2 separate regions of the Homo sapiens genome follow, and region 2 is linked to region 1. The links are contacts of gene promoters, found by promoter capture Hi-C in blood cells and fetal thymus (Javierre and others, 2016). All regions are on one chromosome and are shown on one strand. Each heading gives the region's core, a stretch centred on a gene start or on the middle of the fragment in contact. The rest is flanking DNA. Distances are from core to core; before and after follow the strand shown. Region 1 holds the start of CDH10 (cadherin 10). Region 2 overlaps CDH6 (cadherin 6).

Region 1 (4,858 bases), core at 169-2,668:
TATCTCCAAAGAGCTGAGAAGTAATGGATGTGCAGTTTTGGATAATAGAAGCTTTCACTGGAATGAAGGAATGAAGGACCACAATTATAGGAAACATCTGTTTTTTCAAAGCAAAAGATGATAGGTCATTTTTAAAACAATATTTGTCTTTGTACCTGTAGACTCCCCTTTTTTCATAATAAGGAGACAGTAGGTTTTTATTTTAGTGGCATAAAAACAATTTCAGACTACTGCTTTTGCCCATAGTTACAGTGCTATCAATAGTTACTTGTTGGGGACATGCATTTATACTTGCAATATGCTGCATTAATTTAACAACACATAAAATATGGATTTTATTGCAGCAGAAACAATAAATGCTGCAACTGCTGACTACATGCATTTACTCTCCCTCTCTTTACCTCTCTCCCCCCAATACTTCTGACTCAGATATAAAATTGAAAATAAGAATTCTGCCTATTCTATTTCTGATGAATGTCAATCTATTGTATTTATGTAGATGCTTAGTGACCATTGACAGTTTCAAGGAATCTGTCTTCTGCCTGTCATTTCTGTTTATATTGAACGTACAATGAACTATGACTACGAATAAGTGCAGAGTGAATCCATTCATATGGAATGCAAAGTAATGTTAGATGATGTTAGAGTTCACAGTAACAATGTTATCTCTTGAACTGATTTTTAAAATAAAAATGAACAAGTCTGGGCATGACAAATTCACTTCATAACATATTTTTTAGCATTTGTTCCAAGTGAATGAATTCACAAACTCTAATATCATGACCCACTGTTGAGCATAATATATAATTTATCCAGCTTTACATTGCCTATATAGATATTCGAAGCAGTTGTTTCTAGAATTAAATATATAGAGTTGTATGCTTATTTAAGTATTAAAGATAATTATTTTGAAATAATTGCTAAACACAACTTAAAAACAAACATTTATCTCCTCCCTCTCCCCCCCCACCCCTCAAGTGGAGGAATATATAATACCTTAACGGAGTTAAAAGAAAGAGGTGAAGTCTTCCTACCTTTTTTATCAGCTTCTGGATAATGGAAGTTGGTTCCAGCCAAAATAACCCAGGAGAAATTGTCACTATGTCCCCTTTTTGTTTGTTTTCGGCTGTTATTTTCTATCACTGATTCTACTTCAATCTAACTCAAGCTCTTTCTCAGCATCACTTTTAACTCTGGACAGCAGGGAACCGAAGAAAACGGGGGCGAGCTCTCTCTGATTGGCTTTCATTCAGTGCTTCTGATTAAGGGGAAAGGAAAAAAAAAAAAAAGGAAAGGGGGGAAAAAAGCTCTTCCTCACACGGAGAGAAAGGTTCTGCTGATAGAGCTGCAGCACTCGCCATGGGAAGGTTAGAGACTGTGGAAGTGCTGGCTTCTGCGAGCACACAGCGATTTGCAAGTGAATGCGAGGGGAGGGCGCATCCGAGAGGAGGGCTTTGCTTGAAAGGCGTCCCCTCCCCCGCAGGGCAGAAAGACTCTCTGTTTCAAGGCTAAGGTAATCAGCCCAATCTAATCCGCCTGTGTCCGTAATACAATCTCAGGAACAGGACTGCTTCTTGCAATTTTTTTTAAAAAAAGATAGTTCTTCTGGAATATATATTCCTGCACCGTCCTTACACCAGACTACCGAAATCCAAGTATTATCAGAGCGCCAAGTCAAATTGCAACCAGATTTGATATGTTACCAGAGTGATTTTTCGTTGTGATTTTAAATGTTTATTTTTTGCTTTCAGGGAACTTTCTCGGCTTGATTTTCCAAATCCCTTCTCTTGTTGCTTATTGTCACAGGAGTGCATACCTCGCTCATCATTTTGGAATGTCCGCGAGCCAGTCTTCTCTGCCTAATCTTTGCATTTTAATACTTTATAGATAAAATATTTTATTAAAAATGTAAATATGTAATTAGTGTTATTAAAATATTTAGACTTTGAACTTGACACAGTCTCCTTTTTTTTCTTTTTAACGTTGTTTTTTCTCATAAATACGGGTTTCATACCCAAATGAGTGTGTGGACAGATGTAAATACATTTGGATTGTTCTATCTACTTAAACATCTAACTGTCTCGCTATTTATCAATCTCCACATCAAATTGCAATCAACCAAACCTTACCAAAGGATGTCAGTATAGCTCCACAAAGTAATTAACATCTTTGCATTTTTCCGGCTACAGGTAGATTCCTTTTAAAGTGCCATCCATAAATAAATTATATACACATATACATACATATATGCATATAAATACATATATGTCAATTATAGTTTTAAAGCTAGAGGAGAAATTACGAAGATCATTTTGGGCTGTTATTATTATTATTTCTTTAGCAGATAAAAATGCTCAGAATGTTAAATTGTCACAGGACTAACTGGAGGCGGGGTCAAAGCTGTAATACCACACTCCTACTTCCAGTTTAGTATTGTTTCCGGTTGCCATACTGCCTCCTCTGTACCTGTTTGATCATTCTAACAGTCAACAGGCCCCTTACATAATCAGCACAATGAAAAAGGAAGAAACTCAATCTGAGGGGCAAAAAAGAAGTGAGAGGGAGATTCAAAATTAGATTCCAAAAAGGTTTTAATGTATCACAGTGTTATTATATGATGAATTTTACCAATTAGTTTTATATTTGAAAACACCAAACATTTCCACTGAGCTGAACAGCTAAATGACATTTAGAGCAGAAATGGACTTTTGAAACTCTTAATTTTACAGACGATGGCATTAAGATCAGGAAAATTTTATGGCCCCTCTAAAGTTTGATAATAATAGAGCTAGAATTCTGAATTATCACCGTATCATTTGCCCATAGTTTTTGTTATGTTTTGTATGTTTTCTTCGACAGGGTGCCTTAATTTCAGAGTCAAGTGAAAATAGATATTCAGTTTTTTACCTCTGATACGTATATTTGTGTGTATTTGTGTTTGCCTGGTATATGTGTGTATTCAATATAATACTGTTATTGACATGTTAAATTAGCTATCAAGAGAAATTTATAATATTTAATTAAATGCAGCAGGTTAGGTACACACACACACATTGTTCTCTTATTAAATTAACTATTTCCATATGTTTGTTTAGTGCTAATTTCAAAATGTATGACTACATAATGTGAAGAATTTGGGGGTTACATTTAAATGGGTCGAGAAAATAACCAAAGGCTAAGATCTGAGGTAAATTGCTATTTTATTAATTAGAATACATGTTGAAATGATGTATTCCCAAAATAACATTTTCTGAATTATATAGTTTATGCTTCTCTTACATAGGTTTTTGGTTGGTGTGTTTATTCTGCCCTGTCTAGTCATCAGAAACTCAGCTTCCTTCTGTCTTGATGCTCAATGTTTTTAAGGAATTGAACTCATTTATATGATCCAGGAGAGATCACCACACATCTACCTTCTAGAAAAAGGAATAAAAGGAACAAGAGAAAGTTGCTCCCGTCCTTTGAAAAATGTGACCCTGAACATGTACATGTCACTTTCATGATCTCATTGGGTGGAATTTAGACACTTGGTCACACATTGTTGCTAGGGAGGCTGGGGATGTGGTATTTACTCTCACTATTTGCCCAGCTAAAGTCACTGGTGCTATTAGGGAGGTGACAGAATTGGGTACAAACAGCAGGATTGTCTATTATATTCATGTATTATAGAGTAGTATATTTGGTATAATGTACTTTTTTGGAGAAAAGCAAATTTTTATTCTAGTTTAAAATTAAAATTATGTTATAATGCTAGTGAAAGGTATCTATACAAAATAACGTTAATAATATTTTAACATTTATGAAACAATTGTCAGTTATTGCATTTTTTCTTTTTTTGATCAAGTAATATAATTAATAAATAATAGGCAAAGCATCCATGTATTCCAAAGTTCAGGGGATCTAGTTATAGATGTGAGAGAATGAAGAGGAAAACATTTGAACAATAAATGAATTAAACCCATTCACATTTTTCTTAATGCTCATCTTAGAAAGACTCTATATCTGAGATCAAATGCCATCCTATCGAATATACGCCCTAGTAATTAAAATTAAAATAAAGAATAAACAGAACATTGACTAAAATGTAAAACTTCTGACAATGGGTTTTGTTTTATTAAACAATATTATTTTTCATTTTCTTTATTTCACAATATAAATGAGTTAACTTAGGATTCTGCAAGTTTTTCTATTTCTTTATAATTTTCCCTCCAAATCTTATGTGAAATAGTCTTGTGAATTAGATAGGGTTTTCCTGTTGTTACCAATATCAGGAAACTGGTAGCACGTGGGAAGTGAAATGAATAAATGAAATGTAAAAGGGACAGTAAACTCTCAATGAAATGAATGGGTCAATATCTCGCAGAAATGTCCTTTAATATGAGGAGAGGCCATATATCAACTACAAGCAAATAAAAGTTAATGAAAACTTTTGCAAATATATTTCTATATACAACTTTTAAAACTAAATAGGAAATTGCACAGAAAATACCTTACTACAATCATACAGCACTAAGAAAATTTGAAAGCATTCTATTATTAATATAATAATGGGACTCAATGACGGCTGATCTCTTCATTGCAAATGTGAAAGATCCAATTTGAGTAAAATCAATTAAATGAAACAACCTTCCATTTTGTATGAAACTATTACATGCCTAGAAGTTGTCATGCTGTTGCTAAACAATAAGCTTAACTGCACAAGACTTTACTTGCTGAGCAGCTATGTGCTTATTTTAAAACACTAGCTTCTTAGCCACCCTTTCCTCGGTTTCTTTGAATGTTATGAAAAATAATATCAATTTCCATTTTCTGTTAGGAAGTTACTGAAACCTAGTTATCTCACTAAGTCTATGAAACA
Region 2 (5,292 bases), core at 2,097-4,596, 6.6 Mb after region 1:
GCTTGTTGATATTATTACTCTTACTATAGACACAACATGAGAGCTCATTCTAGACATACACTGTCTGTATTAGTCATTCCCGCATTGCGATAAAGAACTACTGAGACTGGGTAATTTATAAAGAAAAGAGGTTTAATTGGCTCACAGTTCCACAGGCTGTACAGGAAGCATGGCAGAGGAAGCCTCAGGAAACTTACAATCTTGGTGGTTGGCGAAGGGGAAGCAGATATACCTTACGTGGCCGGAGCAGGAGGAAGAGAGAGAAGGGGGAGGTGCTACACACTTTTAAACAGCCAGATTGTGTGAGAACTCACTAACTGTCATGAGAACAGCAAGAGGGAAGTTCACCCCCATGATCCAGTCACCTCCCATCAGGCCTATCCTCCAACAGTGGGGATTACAATTCGACATGAGATTTGGGTGGGGACACAGAGCCAAACCATATCACTGTCCAACTGTGTTACATATTCAAATGTGCATAATGGTACTGCATGGTGGGTGCGGTTTTCCCCACAGAGTATTGTGGATAAGGAATCTGAATAGCACAGAGGTTAAATAACTCTCCTAAAATTGCGTAGCTGGTAAGTAAATGAACCAGAATGCACATTCCAAGTACATACTCCATTCAACATACCCCAGGTATAATTAGCAGGAGAAACATAGAGTCCTACATCCTGCCCTGGTCCTTTGCTGCCCTAAGAATAGGGTTTTTCCTGAAATAAAGTAATGCACTTCTCAGGTTAGATATAACTAAGTAGCCCATTGGGTAGGAGGTTTGAGAAGACATGTTCTCATTACACAGAAAAATATACTTTGAACAGTATACACAGAGTACGTATGTATGTATGTATTTTTGAGATAGCATCTCACTCAGTCACCCAGGCTGGATTGTAGTGGCAAAATCTCGGCTCACTGCAACCTCCCCTTCCCAGGTTCAAGTGATTCTCCTGTCTCAGCCTCCCAAGTAGCTGGGATTACAGGCGCCCACCACCACGCCCAGCTAATTTTTGTATTTTTAATAGAGACGAGGTTTCACCATGTTGGCCAGGGTGGTCTCAAACTCCTAACCTCAGGTGATCCGCCCACCTTGGCCTCCCAAAGTGCTGGGATCACAGGCATGAGCCACTGCGCCCGGCCCAGAGTACTTATTTCTGATGGCATACAAGTGATCATCTCTTCAAGTAATCAGCCGCTTTCTTTTCTTGGAAGAGGAACCCAGGGCACAGAGAGGTTGTGCGACTTGGCCATGTTCACACAGCATATTAGGGAAGTTCACAACCAGAGTGCAGTTCTCCTACTTCTTGTCCCTTTTTGCCTCCTCTCCCAGGGTCCCCACCTCCTTCCTACCAACACGAGAAGAAAACGGTCAGTTCAAACTCCTCTTGAACATGAAATGCTTTTACAAACTAGGAACACAAATTCGTCGTTTTTGCTATTTTCAGAAACTGTTTGGGACTGCAAATACGTTGTGAAAAACTAGGCTTTTGAAGATGAGACAGTGAAATCCCACTATCCTCATTATTATGCAATCAAATCACTCTGTGAGACTAATTAAGGATTTTGAAGTATGTTGTGTTTCTCAGAATCAAATGTGAAGAAAGGTGGTCTCATGGCTTTCATAAGAAAGGGCTGAGCCTGTTCCAACCATATAAGGGCAAAGCCTGAAAATGACCCATCCCTGGAAGCTGCTCAGCTTCTCCTAGCACCACACATCGGGTTACAGCAGACACACTCCTCTTAAAACAGGGCTCCTCAAACTCCAAAGCACACAAATCTCCCTGCCTAGCTGATGCTCGGAAAGAAGAGTGGAGGTATCTCCTCACCCTATCCCACTTCACCCCCTTTCTGAAACTAAGTTGGGCGAGAGACAAGGAAAGGAACGTACGGCGGGAAAGCACCTCCGCCCGTCAAACCACATTCTCCCAAACCCTCCTCACCCTCTCCTCCACTCCACGGTGGACGTGGAAGACAATCTACTTGGGCTTTGGGATACTTTACATATTTTCATTATGTACCCTTTCAACTGATATTTTTTATTTGCCCAGTCCCATATACTGTATACAAGTATAGAAGTACATTAATATAATAAGCATAATATAATAAATAAACAAGCATATACATTTTGAAGTTATTTGCTTTATAGTTTTTGGGAGTTCAGAAGAGAAATATTTCCTGGCTTTTTCCCAGCGTTCTAGAATAGAATGTACACCTCCCCCTCCCTAGCAGTGCATCAGAGGCAAACACCCTAGTTCTTCAACCTCTTCCTAAAACCTCACAGATCAAGGCTTCTGCCAAGGTTCCTCCAGAATTTACATCCTTTTGGCCTCCAACTCCAATTTTATTCTGTAAAGAATCAAATATAGCTTCCCTGTCAGCCACAAGCTGTGGCCGTGCTTCTCAGATATTCCCTGCTCATCAACATGCCCAGTCTCCATGCTCCATCCCACCTCCTGAGGGAACGGACCCCTACCTTAACCATCCTACATCTAAACAAACGAAGCTTAAGAAACCCAGAAAAGACAAGGAACCAGTATTAGTTGCTTCTTGCTGCTGCAACGCACACCACAAAACACATTACCACAAAACAATACAAACTTATTCTCGTACAGATTTATAGGTCAGAGGTCAGAGGTGATTACAGTGGGCTAAAAATCAGCCTGTCGGTGTGCTTGTGTTCTTTCTACAGGCTCTAGAGGAGAAGCCACTTCCTTACCATCCCCAGCTTCCAGAGGTCACCTGTTTTCTTGGCCCCTTCCGCCATTTTCAAAGCCAACAGTGTAGCATGTTTAAATCTCTCTCTCTTTGTCTCGGACTCATGCCTCACTGTCCCATCTTCTCTGACCCACCTGCCTCCCTCTTTTAAGGTCTAAGGACCTTTGTGGTTATATTGGACCCACCCAGATGATCCAGGATAATCTCCACAGCTCAAGATCCTTAACCATATCTGCGGTCTCTTTTGCCATGTGAGGTATTAATAACATAGTTCTGTGGATTGGGACGTGGGCATATTTGGAAGGCCTTTGTTCTGCCTGCTGCAGATCCCCAGTGCCAAGGTTCAGGAAGTGAATCAGCTGGAGAAGGAAGCTGCATTCACCTTGATTCCAAACTTTGTGGAATGGAGAAAAGTATGTCCCAGGGTCAGACACCCATGGACTCCCACCCCAGCTTTGCCAATAACCCAGTTGTACAATCCTAGGCAGTGGTCCCCAACCTTTTTGGCACTAGGAACTGGTTTTGTGGAAGAAAATTTTTCCACAGATGTGGTGGGGTGAGCAGAGGATATGGTTTCAGGATGAAACTGTCCCACCTCAGATCATCATGCGTTAGCTACATACTCATAAGGAGCACGCAACCTGCATCCCTCACATGCGCAGTTCACAATAGGGTTCGCCCTCCTATGAGAATCTAATGCCTCTAATACAGGAGGCGGAGCTCAGGCTACAATGCTGGTTCACCTGCCACTCACCTCCTGCTGTGTGGCCGGGTTCCTAACAGGCTGCAGACTGGTACTGGTCCATGGCCCCAGAGGTTGGGGAACCCCTGATCTTAGGCATGTTATTTGATCTCTCCAAGATTTATTTCCTTTCCTGTAATGTGGGGAAAATAATGCATCTCTCATAGGGCATAAAAAGTACAAAAGTACCTTATATAATGATAGACTCTTAGTAGATGTTCAATACAGGTTAGTTCTTTCTCCATTCTGACACTGACAGGTCTAATTACCCGTCATACTAACTAGCACTTGCGTGCCATTTCCAAGGGTACCAACTGCCCAAACTATATCATTTTATTTAATCTACAACACAGCCCTCAAGCTCTACCCGATTCTCCAAAACCTGAGTCCGATCAAGGTGAAGAGACTCAGTCAGTGATAAAGGAAGAAAGGGCAAAACAAAGACTGCAAGCCTACTGGTTTGACTCCAAATCTGGTGCTTTACTACCCTGGCTAACAGACCTCTTGTTATCCAGTTCTGGTCACCATACTGGTTAGAAATTAAATGTTTGGCCAAAATAGATTGGAGGGTAGGAAATGAAGCATATTGCCTGTTATCTTTGTGAAGTTTGCAGAAAAGCAAAACAGAATGAGGAACTGGAGGCTCAGGAAAATATTTTCTCTCTGGAGCTGTTAGGCATTTGTAACAAGTTGTTAAGGCAGCTTGGCTCTTACGACTGTATGGCTGGTGCCAATTTGGAAGCTTTTATAGGTCTCTAGTTCCCCTGATATTATTGGCTAAACCAATAAGTGGTTAATTTTTTTATGTAAAAAGAATTCTAACTCTGAAAACACTTGTGAGAATTCAAGAAACTCCGGAGTCCCACCTAAGGATTTTTTAGTGAAAGAATGAATTATGACAAAGAGAAATGCAATTGTGGACCATCATAGTAGCTGAATAAACATTTCTCAGTACTTAATGTCACAGAACATAGGAAGAAGTTTTGTGTTTTTGTTGTTGTTGCTCTTAATTGGGATTATTAAGGAGCAGCATAATTACGGGCTGAGGCTTTTTGCCCTTGGTGACGTAAGGGACTTTGCTCTCCATTCTCCTGGCTGGTGATTATCAGGCCAGTGACTTGGATCCTGGTATGACAATTAAGATTGAGTAGTGTCATCTGTTTCATAATTAAATTCTATCTTCCATATCCTTTGAATGCTGTATGGGCGTTTAATTGGCGGATGCTATTTCTGCTGCCACTGTGGCGTGTCTGAACAACAAAGTCAAAATAACAGTGATTCCGCTCCTTGCAGAATATCCCAGTTGAAGAGAATTTGCTTTCTCTTTGGCACAGAAAGAGCCCTGAAGTCCCAATTTAGACACAGCAGTTAAGAAGTTGAGGGCCTCTGAATTCCTGCAGGTTCTCACTCAAGGTGATATTTAGGGTCTACCATTGCAAATTAAAAGATCAACTTAACTTGCATGGGAGAAAAGTCATCTCTGTCCTGTAGATGACTTCTCCAAAGACATAGAGAACTCACTAGGGGATCATACACAGGTTTGTCTGTATAACCATCACAGGCAGAGAATATCTTTTTTTAAAAGTCTGGCTCATTTTCCTTCACTTACTAGAAAAAGAGTCTCTGAGAGTATGTATTAAAGTATTTATGTTAAACACCGTTAAAATACACTTCCAGTGTATTTATTAACAGAGAATTCAGAAGCATTAGGCCTCCTCTACAGATGTATCTTCCTGTTGCATCTTTAAGAAAGCAGCGGAAGATGTTTAAGACCATGAGTAATGTACTCAGTGAAAAATGAGAAAAGAAACTTATAGGCAAAGCAAAGAGAAACAAAT

Evidence for each region. The method cuts DNA at HindIII sites, captures the fragments that hold promoters and counts their contacts. A CHiCAGO score of 5 or more calls a contact.
Region 2: a fragment that was not itself captured here is called in contact with the fragment with the promoter of CDH10 in region 1 in 1 of 17 cell types (endothelial precursors); the score reaches 5.4 in endothelial precursors.

The regions. Positions count from the first base shown.
Region 1 is chr5:24,643,560-24,648,417 of GRCh38, forward strand. It overlaps CDH10 (cadherin 10), which reads right to left and starts at 1,419. Exons shown (of 12, transcript NM_006727.5): 1 at 1,035-1,419. It overlaps LOC124901174 (a long non-coding RNA gene), which reads left to right and starts at 1,150. Exons shown (of 2, transcript XR_007059125.1): 1 at 1,150-1,513; 2 at 1,752-1,955. RefSeq lists an enhancer at 1,116-1,711. The HindIII fragment of the contact is 4,637 bases long and covers 50-4,686 here.
Region 2 is chr5:31,225,338-31,230,629 of GRCh38, forward strand. The region is part of intron 1 of CDH6 (cadherin 6); the gene reads left to right. Among named protein-coding and RNA genes, the nearest start is that of CDH6, 34 kb to the left of the region's middle. The HindIII fragment of the contact is 1,696 bases long and covers 2,499-4,194 here.